Linked DNA regions of Homo sapiens: region 1 is linked to region 2. Evidence: promoter capture Hi-C in 16 types of primary human blood cells and fetal thymus (Javierre and others, 2016). All regions are on one chromosome and are shown on one strand. Each heading gives the region's core, a stretch centred on a gene start or on the middle of the fragment in contact. The rest is flanking DNA. Distances are from core to core; before and after follow the strand shown.

Region 1 (5,278 bases), core at 1,433-3,932, 300 kb after region 2:
CTGGGTGTGGTGGCATGTGCCTGTAGTCCCAGCTACTCAGGAGGCTGAGGTGGGAGGATCACTTGAACCTGGGAGGTAGAGATTGCAGTGAACCAAGAATGTGCCACTGCATTCCAGCCCGTGTGACACAGCAAGATCCTTCCCCAAAAAAAGAAGAAGAAAAAATGAACAATGTTGGAGTGCACACACTTCCAATTTCAAAAATTACTATAATAAACTACAGTAATCAGGACAATGTGGTACTGGCATAAGGACAGACATAGAGATCAATGAAATATAAATAAGAGTCCTGAGAGTCCAGAAATAAACCCTCACATTTGGTTCAGCCGCAAGAGCCGAACATATTTAATGGTGGAGTTCAATGGGGAAAACAGAGTCTTGCAAAAGAAAGAGGTCAGACCCCTGCCTCACACCATACACAAAAATTAAAGTGGATGAAAACAAATGTAGGAGCTAAAACTATAAAACTCTGAGAACATAGACATAAATCTTCATGACCTTGGATTAGGCAATAGTTTCATAAATATGATACCAAAAGCACAAGCAACCAAAGAAAAAATAGACTAGGCTTCATCAGAATTTAAAATTTTGCATCAGGCATGGTGGCTCACACCTGAAATCCCAGCACTTTGGGAGGCTGTGGCAGGAGGATCGCTTGAGACTGGACACTATCAAAAAAGTGAAAAGACAACCCACAGGATAGGAGAAAATAACTGACAATCATATATCTGATAACAGATTCTAACCAGCATATATAAAGAACCCTTACAACTCAATAATAAAAGACAAATAGCCCAGTTTAAAAATGGGCTGAGCCAAGTGTGGTGCTCACTCCTGTAATCCCAGCACTTTGGGAGGCTGAGGTGGGCAGATCACCTGAGGTCATGAGTTCAAGACCAACCTGGCCAACATGGAGAAACCCCATCTCTACTAAAAATATAAAAATTAGCCCGGCGTGGTGGCAGACGCCTGTAATCCCAGCTACTCAGAAGGCTGAGGCAGGAGAATCACTTGAACCCAGGAGGTGGAGGTTGCAGTGAGCCAAGATCACACCACTGCACTCCAGCCTGGGTGACAGAGCAAGACTCCACCTCAAAATTTAAAAAATAAAAATAGAAACAGGCAGATATGGTTGGGATGTTTGTCTCCTCCAAATCTCATGTTGAAATGTGATCTCCAGCGCTGGAGGTGGGGCCTGCTGGGAGATGTTTGGGTCACGGAGGTGACTCCCTCATGAATGGCTTGGTGCCCTCCTCACAGTAATGAGGGAGTTCTTGCTCTGTTAGTTCACAAGAGAGCTGGTTGTCTGAAGGAGGCTGGCAGTGCCCACCCTTTCTCTTGCTCACACTGGCTCCCCTTTGCCTTCTGCCATGATTGGAAGCTTCCTGAGGCCTACTCCAGGAGCAGGTGCTGGTGCCATGTGTCCTGTACAGCCTGTAGAACTGTGAGCCAAATAAACCTCTTTTCTTTACAAATTACTCAGTCTCAGCTATTCCTTTATAGCAATGCAAACAGACTAATGCATGGGCATAGGATGTAAATAGACATTTCTCCAAAGAAGACATACAAATGGCCAATAAGCACATGAAAAGATACTCAACATCATTAGTCATTAGGAAAATGCAAGTCAAAACCACAATGAGATAGCACTTTGTACCCACTAGGTTAGTTATAATAAAAAAGACAGATAATAACAAGTGTTGATGAGAATATGGAGAAATCAGAACCCTCATACACTGCTGGTAAGAATGTAAAACGTTTTGGAAAAAGCCTGGCAGTTCAAAAGGTTATATATAGAGTTACATGATCCAGCAATTCTGCACCTAAAAGGTATATACCCAAGAGAAATGAAAACATGTATTCACATAAAAACTTACATAAGGCCGGGCGCAGTGGCTCATGCCTGTAATCCCAGCACTTTGGGAGGCCAAGGCAGGTGGATTTTCGGAGTTCAGCAGTTCGAGAACACCCAGGGCAACATGGTGAAACCCTGTCTCTACCAAAAATAGAAAAAAAATAGCCAGGTGTGGTGGCATGTACCTGTAGTCCCAGCTACTCAGGAGGCTGAGGCATGAGAATCGCTTGAGCCCCAGAGGCAGAGGTTGCAGTGAGCCAAGATCGCACCACTGCACTCCAGCCTGGACAACAGAGTACGACTCCATCTCAAAAAAAAAATCTTACATGACTAGTCATAGCAGCATTATTCCCCCAAAATAGAAACAACCACAACCCAAATGTCCATCAGCTGATGAATGGATAAATGAAAGGTGGTATATTCATACAATGGAATATTATTCAGCAATAAAAAGGAGGACTAAAGTGCTGACACATGCTGTAACATAGATAAACCTTACAAACATCATGCTGGGGCCAGACACAGTGGTTCACACCTGTAATCCCAGCACTTTGGGAGGCTGAGGTGGGAGAATCACCTGAGGCCAGGAGTTCAGGACCAGCCTGAGCAACACAGTGAGACCCCATCTCTACAAAAAAATTAAAAATTAGCTGAGGCTGGCCATGGTGGCTCACACCTGTAATCCCAGCACTTTGGGAGGCTGAGGCGAGTGGAACACTTGAGGCCAAGAGTTCCAGACCAGGCTGGCCAACATGGTGATACCCTGTCTCTACTAAAAATACAAAAATTAGCCAGGCGTGGTGGTAGGCACCTGTAATCCCAGCTACTCGGGAGGCTGAGGTAGGAGAATCACTTGAACTCAGGAAGAGGAGGTTGCAGTGAGCTGAGATCTCACCACTGCACTACAGCCTGGGCGACACAGCGAGACTCTGTCTCCAAAACAACAACAACAACAACAACAACAAAGGAGTTTGAGACCAGCCTGGGCAACATAGTGAGACCTCATCTCTAAAACAAAATTTTAAAAATAAATAAAAAGGCGTCACATTTACTAACATCGATGAGGTCCAAGATATACCACCAAGTCAAAAGAAAAAAAAAGCAGGTTCAAAAATAAGCCTGTAGGCTGGGCAAGGTTGCTTCTGCCTGTAATCCCAGCACTTTGGGAGGCCAAGGCAGGAGGATCACTTGATATCAGAAGTTCGAGACCAGCCTGGCCAATATGGCAAAACCCCGTCTCTACTAAAAATATAAAAATTAGCCAGACATGGTGGTGGGCACCCCTAATCCCAGTTACTCAGGAGGCTGAGGCAGAAGAATCCCTTGAACCTGGGAGGTGGAGGTTATAGTCAGCTGAGATTGCGCCACTGCACTCCAGCCTGGGCAACAGAGCTAGACTCTGTGCGCCCCCAAACCTAAAAAAAAAAAAAGAAAGAAAGAAAGAAAAAGAAAGCATGCAGATTAAAACAGGTACTTAAGAGACTTTAAGAAGATAAAATTTCAGCTGGGCACGGTGGCTCACGCCTGTATCTCAGCACTTTGGGAGGCCGAGACGGGCGGATCACCTGAGGTCAGGAGTTTAAGACCAGCCTGGCCAACACGGTGAAACCCCAACTCTACCAAAAATACAAAAATTAGCTGGCACCTGGCATTCTGATTTTTAAGAAGCAAGCATAATAGGATTCCATTCTTATGAAAAAATCTGTATCTATATGTGTATAACAAAAATACCTGGAAATTTAGGATTTAGGGTACTCTTTTTATTTTTGGAGAACAGGGCTCACTCTCACCCAGGCTGGAGTGCAGTGGCAGGATCACGGCTCACTGCAGCCTCAAACTCCTGGGCTCAAGGAATCCTCTCAAGTAACTGAGACTACAGATGTACACTACCATGCCCAGCTAATTTTTGAATTTTTTCTTTTAGAGCTGGGGTCTTGCTATATTGCCCAGGCTGGCCCCAAACTCCTGGGCTCAAGCAATCCTCCCACCTCAGCCTCCCAAAGGGCTGGGATTACAGGAGTGAACTACCACACCCAATCTATGATACTCTTAATTTATATTTTACTGAATTTTCCAATTTTTGTTACTGCAATGGATAATAATCACTTCTACAGACAGAAAAAACAATAAAGCTTTTTGCTGTGTTGCAGGCATTCCTTTGGCCCTGACATTGTGTGAGCACAAAGGGTAGGTGGGGAATGACACTGGAGCTACAGGGAGATGGAGCAGGAGAAGACCAAGGCTCAGCGTCCTCCGGCCTTGGCGTCCAGGGCTGATTCAAGGCCTAGACCCCACTGCGGCTTCCCAGAGACTCAGACCCACTTCTCTTTTTTTTTTTTTAAACAGAGTTTCGCTCTTGTTGCCCAGGCTGGAGTACAATGGCGTGATCTCGGCTCACCACAACCTTCGCCTCCTGGGTTCAAATGATTCTCTTGCCTCAGCCTCCCGAGTAGCTGGGACTACAGGCATGCACCACCACGCCTGGCTAATTTTTTGTATTTTTAGTAGAGATGGGGTTTCTCCATGTTGGTCAGGCTGGTCTCAAACTCCCAAACTCAAGTGATCCACCTGCCTTGGCCTCCTAAAGTGCTGGGACTACAGGCATGAGCCACCGTGCCCGGCCTAAGACCCCTTCTCTTTCAGGGCAGCTGGTGCAGCTGCTGCACAGCCGACCCCCTTGCCCCACACTCCAAAGACACTGGGAATGTAATCCTGGCTTGATGAAGGTCACCCTGTTTCTGGCCGTACAATTCACCAAGGAGGAGAAGCCCTGGGCAGGAGGCCTGGGGCTAGGGGCAGGTTCTCATCCTGCCTACTACCAGCACAAAAACATTATCGCAGCTCAATGAACACTCTCTACGCATCAGGCAGTCCTGCTAGGTGATGTACCTGATTCATTTTATTTCCTCCTCCTGATGACCTGAAGTGATGGGTGGGACCACCATCTTCATTGTACAGATGAGCAAACTGAGGCTCAGGGAACCTACATGAGTGGACCCAGGTGCTCAAAGTGGAGGTGCCTGCAGCAGCCACTATCTTTGAGACTGGACCTGGCTGGACCCCTCATGGGTGGACCTCAGTGAATTCTGCCAGGATCCCAGGAAGGGTGCCTTCCCTCATTTCCCAGATGAGGACTCTGAGAATGAGAGGGGAAGGCCACTTGTCCATGTCCCACAGTGACTGTGTGGCAGGAAGAGGTGCAAGCCAGAGCCTGTGCTCTCAGCTGCCATACCAGGCAGCCTCTTTCACCTGTGAGGGGCCATGGGCATGCTCCCCACCTCCGTGGCTGGCACTAGTAATATCAATTAATAATAATAGATAATAGCAATAATTATTATGACATATAATTATATCAAATGTATTATATTAACATCATCATCATCATCATCATCCACATCAACACAGTTGTGTTGTAACCTGGGG
Region 2 (5,385 bases), core at 906-3,405:
AAGGGTTCATGTGATTACACTGGGCTCACCCATATAATACGGAATCATCTAATTTTAAGGGCTTTATTTCCATTGGCAAAATATCTTTTGCCAAAGAATGCTGGCTGGTAATCCCAGCACTTTGGGAGGCCGAGATGGGTGGATCACCTGAGGTCAGGAGTTCAAGACCAGCCTGGCCAACATGGAGAAACCCAGTCACTACTAAAGATACAAAAATTAGCTGGGCATGGTAGCGCATGCCTGTAATCTCAGCTACTTGGGAGGCTGAGGCAGGAGGATCGCATGAACCCAGGAGGCGGAGGTTGCAGTTAGCCAAGATCACGCCACTGCACTCCAGCCTGGGTAACACAGCGAGACTCTGTCTCAAAAAATAAATAAATAAATAAATAAAAAAGCAACATATTCACAGGTTCCAGGGACTAGGACTTGGACAGTTTTGGGCAAGCGGGGAAGACATTATTCTGTCTACCACAGTACCTGTATTAAACATGTAAATTTCAGTTATTCCCTGTAGGTCAGAGGGCAGTAAAGCTACTTCAGAAGACATCGGAAAGAAGCCAAATGACTTGCCAAAGAGTACTGTATCAGCCGTAGATTGAAAAAAAAGAAGTTAAAAATCCTTTGTAAAAAATCAAGGCAAACAGTTTTTTGAGGGACAGTAGTTCCTCCTTTCTCTCAGGGTAAAGCTAGAGAGATTTTTAAGAGGTGTCTTATTCTAACTTGCAGTCTTTTCCCTTTGTAGGATTTTGCTTACCGGACTCACAAGTTTTCTGTGACCAGTATTAGAAGCAGAAAACACTGAACCCCTTGGCGTTAGAGTTTGGGCTACACCATAATGGTCTCCTATCAATACTGGCTCTCGCTACGTGTTAACATTAGGGAGTGGAGAGTGTGTTTCCTCACCCAGGGAAACCGTTTAAATGTGGCCACTGATCCTGCCTTCATAGTTTTTAAGAGCTGGCATCAATCCAACTCCGGACGGACTCTAGAAATGTTTCTGGACAACGACTGAACCTATAGTTACAGAAAACCTATGTGCTGGGCGCTCTGAATTTCATTTCAGGTTCTAAAACTAAGGCTCAGAGAGGCTAAGTATATTGCCTATTGTTTCTCAGCTGGTAATAACAGCTACCATTTATTAAACATTTGCTCTATGCCAGGCGCCATATCATACGGACCTGATAATGTCAAGATCTCCCTTCACATCCTCTTCCAATCTGTCAAGAATTGTATGTTAATTTTAATTCCAATAATGCCATGAAATACAAGACAAATGCAGATCAGAAAACTGAGGCTCAGAGAGGTTGAGTGGACAGCCAGGGAGTGACTCAGCCAAGATTCCAGTCTAGGTCCGCTGGACTCCAGGGCCTGAATTCTCTCCAGGGTACTGCCTCTAAAAACGCCCTCAGGTGCATTCTGGTCAGTATGGCCCCAGAGTCCAAGTTCTTTACACGACCCGTCAACATATCACCAAGTTCCTAAGAACGCTCTAGGCTGCTGGTGCAGGCTCTGCAAATACACAGCGGCCTGAAAGCACAGGAAGAAATGAAGAACCGTCTAAGTCCATCAGCCGTGGAATAACCGTTTTACTGGTATGAGGGTCTTTTTGTCTCATTATTATGTGGCAGTGAGTCATTTAGAGGTGACCAAAAGGGAAAGTCCTGCCTCTCGTCCCCTACGAGAAGTGTAGGTAAGAACCGTTTAGGCGAGGAGAAGCACGAAGTGGGAACTGCGAGTCGAGCTCCCCATCCTCACTCCCCACCCGCACCCGCCAGGAGGTCCTGAAGCAAAAAGCACCGAAGGGGTTAAGGGTGGCCGGGGGAGCCCAGCCACCGCCCCTTCCCAGCATCGCCTCCCAGAATCCCGCAGGCCCCCAGCCAGTTCTCGCACCTCGCGAGACTCCACCCAGCCCCTTCCCCGAACAGCGACCCGTCCCCGTTCCTAGCTGAGGTCGGTGCTAGGCGGAGGACGCGAGAGGGAGAGCGGAAGGGGGCCGCCGGGCACGCCGGGAAGTGTGGTCCACGCGCTTCACGCGGCCATATTCTTCCGGAGCGGGGGAGGCCAGAGAGGCCGTTGGGACTACGACTCCCAGGCGCCCTTTCGGTTTGTTTTTGTTCAAAAAAAAAAAACCCCACACTCCCCCTCCTCACTCTTCACACACACTCACACACACCCACGGCAGACACGCACGCACCCGGGCGCCGAAGGGAAAGCCGCGTCTCGCCCTCCCGCCCCGCCGTCGGTCCTGTCTCAGTCCCTCAGCAGAGCGGGAAAGCGGAGGCCGGAGCCGTGACCTCTGACCCCGTGGTTATGCGGAGCCGCCGCATTCCTTAGCGATCGCGGGGCAGCCGCCGCTGCCGCCGTGGGCGACTGACGCAGCGCGGGCGCGTGGAGCCGCCGCCGCCCCTCCCCCACCGCCGCTCTCGCGCCAGCCGGTCCCCGCGTGCCCGCCCCTTCTCCCCGGCCGCACCCGAGACCTCGCGCGCCGCCGCTGCCACGCGCCCCCCCCACCGCCGCCGCCGCCCCAGCCCCGCGCCACCGCCCCAGCCCGCCCAGCCCGGAGGTCCCGCGTGGAGCTGCCGCCGCCGCCGGGGAGAAGGATGAAGGACAAACAGAAGAAGAAGAAGGAGCGCACGTGGGCCGAGGCCGCGCGCCTGGTGAGGCGGACAGCCGAGGGGGGCTCCGTGGGGCCCGGGGTGGGGGGGGCTCGCCGCGCACCCCCCCACTGGGGGGGGAGGGGCAAGGCCCTGCCCACCGCGGGAGGGGGCGGGGCCATCTTCCTTTAAGAACGGGACAGCCCCGCAAGGCGAGGGGTGGGGAGCGCTCCGCCGGGATGGGATGTGGCGCCTTTTTCCGCTCGCCCTCGCGCCCCCCCCGCCCCGCGCAGCTAAATTCCGGCGGAGGGGCGAGCTGGCAGGCCGGCTCCTCCCACTCTGGGCAGCGGGGTCCCGCGTCCCCTCCCCCACTATTTGGCAGCGTCTGGGGGTCTGGGGCAGCTTCGTTCATTCACCCGGGGGAGTTGGGTTTCCGGGAAGGGTCGGAAGCTCCTCCCTCGCTTCCTGGTGGGTAATGGGGTGGTGCCTTTGACTCCGGGGGTGGAAAAGCGACCCCACATTCAAGGACGCCAATGGCATGTTGAGCTTTCCCAATCTAAACCAGGTGCGTGGAGGGAAGCAAGTGCTTACTCCCAGCTTGAACCCTGAGCAGCGGTTCTCTAACTTTAGTGTCCTGTGGGCGACACCTGGGAGGCGGTTAGGAACGCTACTCCTAGGGCCCTTCGTAAGACCTGCTGAGCCTCAGGGTCTGGGATAGAGCCTGGGAATCTGCGCTTTCACCAGCTTCCCAGGTGATTCAAACGCAGTGGCTCACGGACCCCACTTTGAGAAACGCAGACTGGGCTGTTTGCCTTCAGAAGCTGGACTGGAAATTGGTATTTTGAGGAGAACTGAATCCACTTTGCAAAGAATGTATGTTGGACAAAGACAAAGTATCTCTGTTGGGAGACGTTGTTCACTGAGGATTTAGCAAGGGAGAGCGTAACTTGAGTGTTTGAAGCCGTCTCGTTCAACCGATGGGGGTTGTGAATTTTGTGTTCAGAGCGTCAGAGGACTTGCAGGTGAAATAGCTTCCTTTTGGATTACTCCCACAAAGCTCAGACACTTTGAGACATATTCGGGTAATTATCTGCTGATACCAGTAGTAACAGGTTATACTAAGATGTCAGTTCCTAAGATCTGTCACACAGCGAGGTTGTGGTGCGGATAGCATAAGTGTCTCTTGACACTGTAGTTTATATGTAATGGTTGTAATTCAGTTTTAATGATGAGTGAAGCTCAGACTTAATTTTCTCTCTTATTTTGAAGTGAGTTTTCTGCTTCAAAGGTGTTGTGCAAAAAAAAAAAAAATAGACTGTATTGGGGGGGTTGACACAAACCTGAAGTACACCTTTTTCTTTCTCGAAGTCTGTAAAAGTTACAGATTTATAAAAACTGAAGGAATTTGGGCTACAGAATTTTCATTGGTGCTTGCTATCCTCTTCCCTAGTCATTTGTTGCCCAGGGAACAAAAATAGCAATTGTTTGTATGCTGAAGTTTTGTGCTTCAGTTTATTTTGGCCTGGCATGTGAAGTTTGAAGATTTTGAGGTTCCGAAATATTTTTTTTCTGATTGAGTCAAAATTGGAAGCTTGGGCTAGTTTTCAGGATCTTGTAGAAATTTCAGGATTTCTCTAACGGTTCTGCACCTGGAAACAAATATAGGCCTGATGGGGAGTGGGAGAGAGCTCTCGTTCTCCTCCTCGACAATGAGTTTTGTGTGTTCATTGACATTCTCCTTGGCGTTCCTGTTATGCGGGTGTTTATGACCCTGGGCACCCAAGGAAATTTGCTTGCCAGAGTTTTACTTGTTAGAGGTAGGTGAAAGTACTTTTAAGTCTTGTGTTATTTATGTCTTGACAGAATTATGAAATCTGTTTGTCTCAAAGTTCTGTTGGCTCTTACTAGTTGACTTTAGGAATTTGGGGTCCACTGTTAAGTCTCTTTAGATTCTCGAATTTACCGTGGTCTGAACTTCAACATCGAGGTTGCTATTTCTGTTTTATCATTGACTCAACTTCAAGCCAGGTTATCAGGGTAAGTTATTCCTCTTTTTCTTCTAAGGCTCTTCATTAAAAATAGTAATATGAATAGGAATTACTTTGTTTGTTTGTTTTTCGTTTGTTTGCCACCACACCCGGCTAATTTTTTATTTTTAGTAAAGATGGGGTTTTTCCATGCTGGTCAGGCTGGTCTCGAACTCGTGACCTTAGGTTATCCGCCCACCTTGGCCTCCCAAAGTGCTGGGATTACAGGCGTGAGCCACCGCGCCCAGCCTATGAGTAGGAATTACTTTGTGGTGCTGTTATACATGTGAAAAAGGATTTGCGAGACTTTGGGAGTCTGAGGTGGAATAATCACTTGAGGCTAGGAATTCGAGATGAGCCTGGGCAACATAGACCCGGTCTCTACAACAACAGCAACAAAATGAGCTGGGCATGGTGGTACACACCTGTGGTCCTAGCTACTCAGGAGGCTGAGGATAGCTTAGGCCGAGGAGTTGGAGGCTGCAGTGCCCAATGATTGATTGTACCACTGCACTCCAGCCTGGGTGATAGAGGGAGACCCTGACTCTAAAAAAATAATGAGGCTGGGCGCTGTGGCTCACGCCTGTAATCCCAGCACTTTGGGACGCCGAGGTGGGTGGATCACAGGGTCAGGAGTTCTAGACCAGCTTGGCCAACAAGGTAAAACCCAGTCTCTACTAAAAATACAAAAATTAGCCGGGTGTGGTGGTGCACGCCTGTAATCCCAGCTACTGAGGGGGCTGAGACAGGAGAATCACTTGAAC

Evidence for each region. The method cuts DNA at HindIII sites, captures the fragments that hold promoters and counts their contacts. A CHiCAGO score of 5 or more calls a contact.
Region 1: a fragment that was not itself captured here is called in contact with the fragment with the promoter of ASXL1 in region 2 in 1 of 17 cell types (naive CD8 T cells); the score reaches 5.5 in naive CD8 T cells.

Annotation. Positions count from the first base shown.
Region 1 is chr20:32,654,699-32,659,976 of GRCh38, forward strand. The region is part of intron 1 of C20orf203 (chromosome 20 open reading frame 203); the gene reads right to left. Among named protein-coding and RNA genes, the nearest start is that of C20orf203, 17 kb to the right of the region's middle. The HindIII fragment of the contact is 2,606 bases long and covers 1,380-3,985 here.
Region 2 is chr20:32,356,176-32,361,560 of GRCh38, forward strand. ASXL1 (ASXL transcriptional regulator 1) reads left to right here and starts at 2,156. Exons shown (of 13, transcript NM_015338.6): 1 at 2,156-2,657. The coding sequence starts at 2,601. RefSeq lists silencers at 2,406-2,455, 2,696-2,855. The HindIII fragment of the contact is 9,109 bases long and covers 1-4,183 here.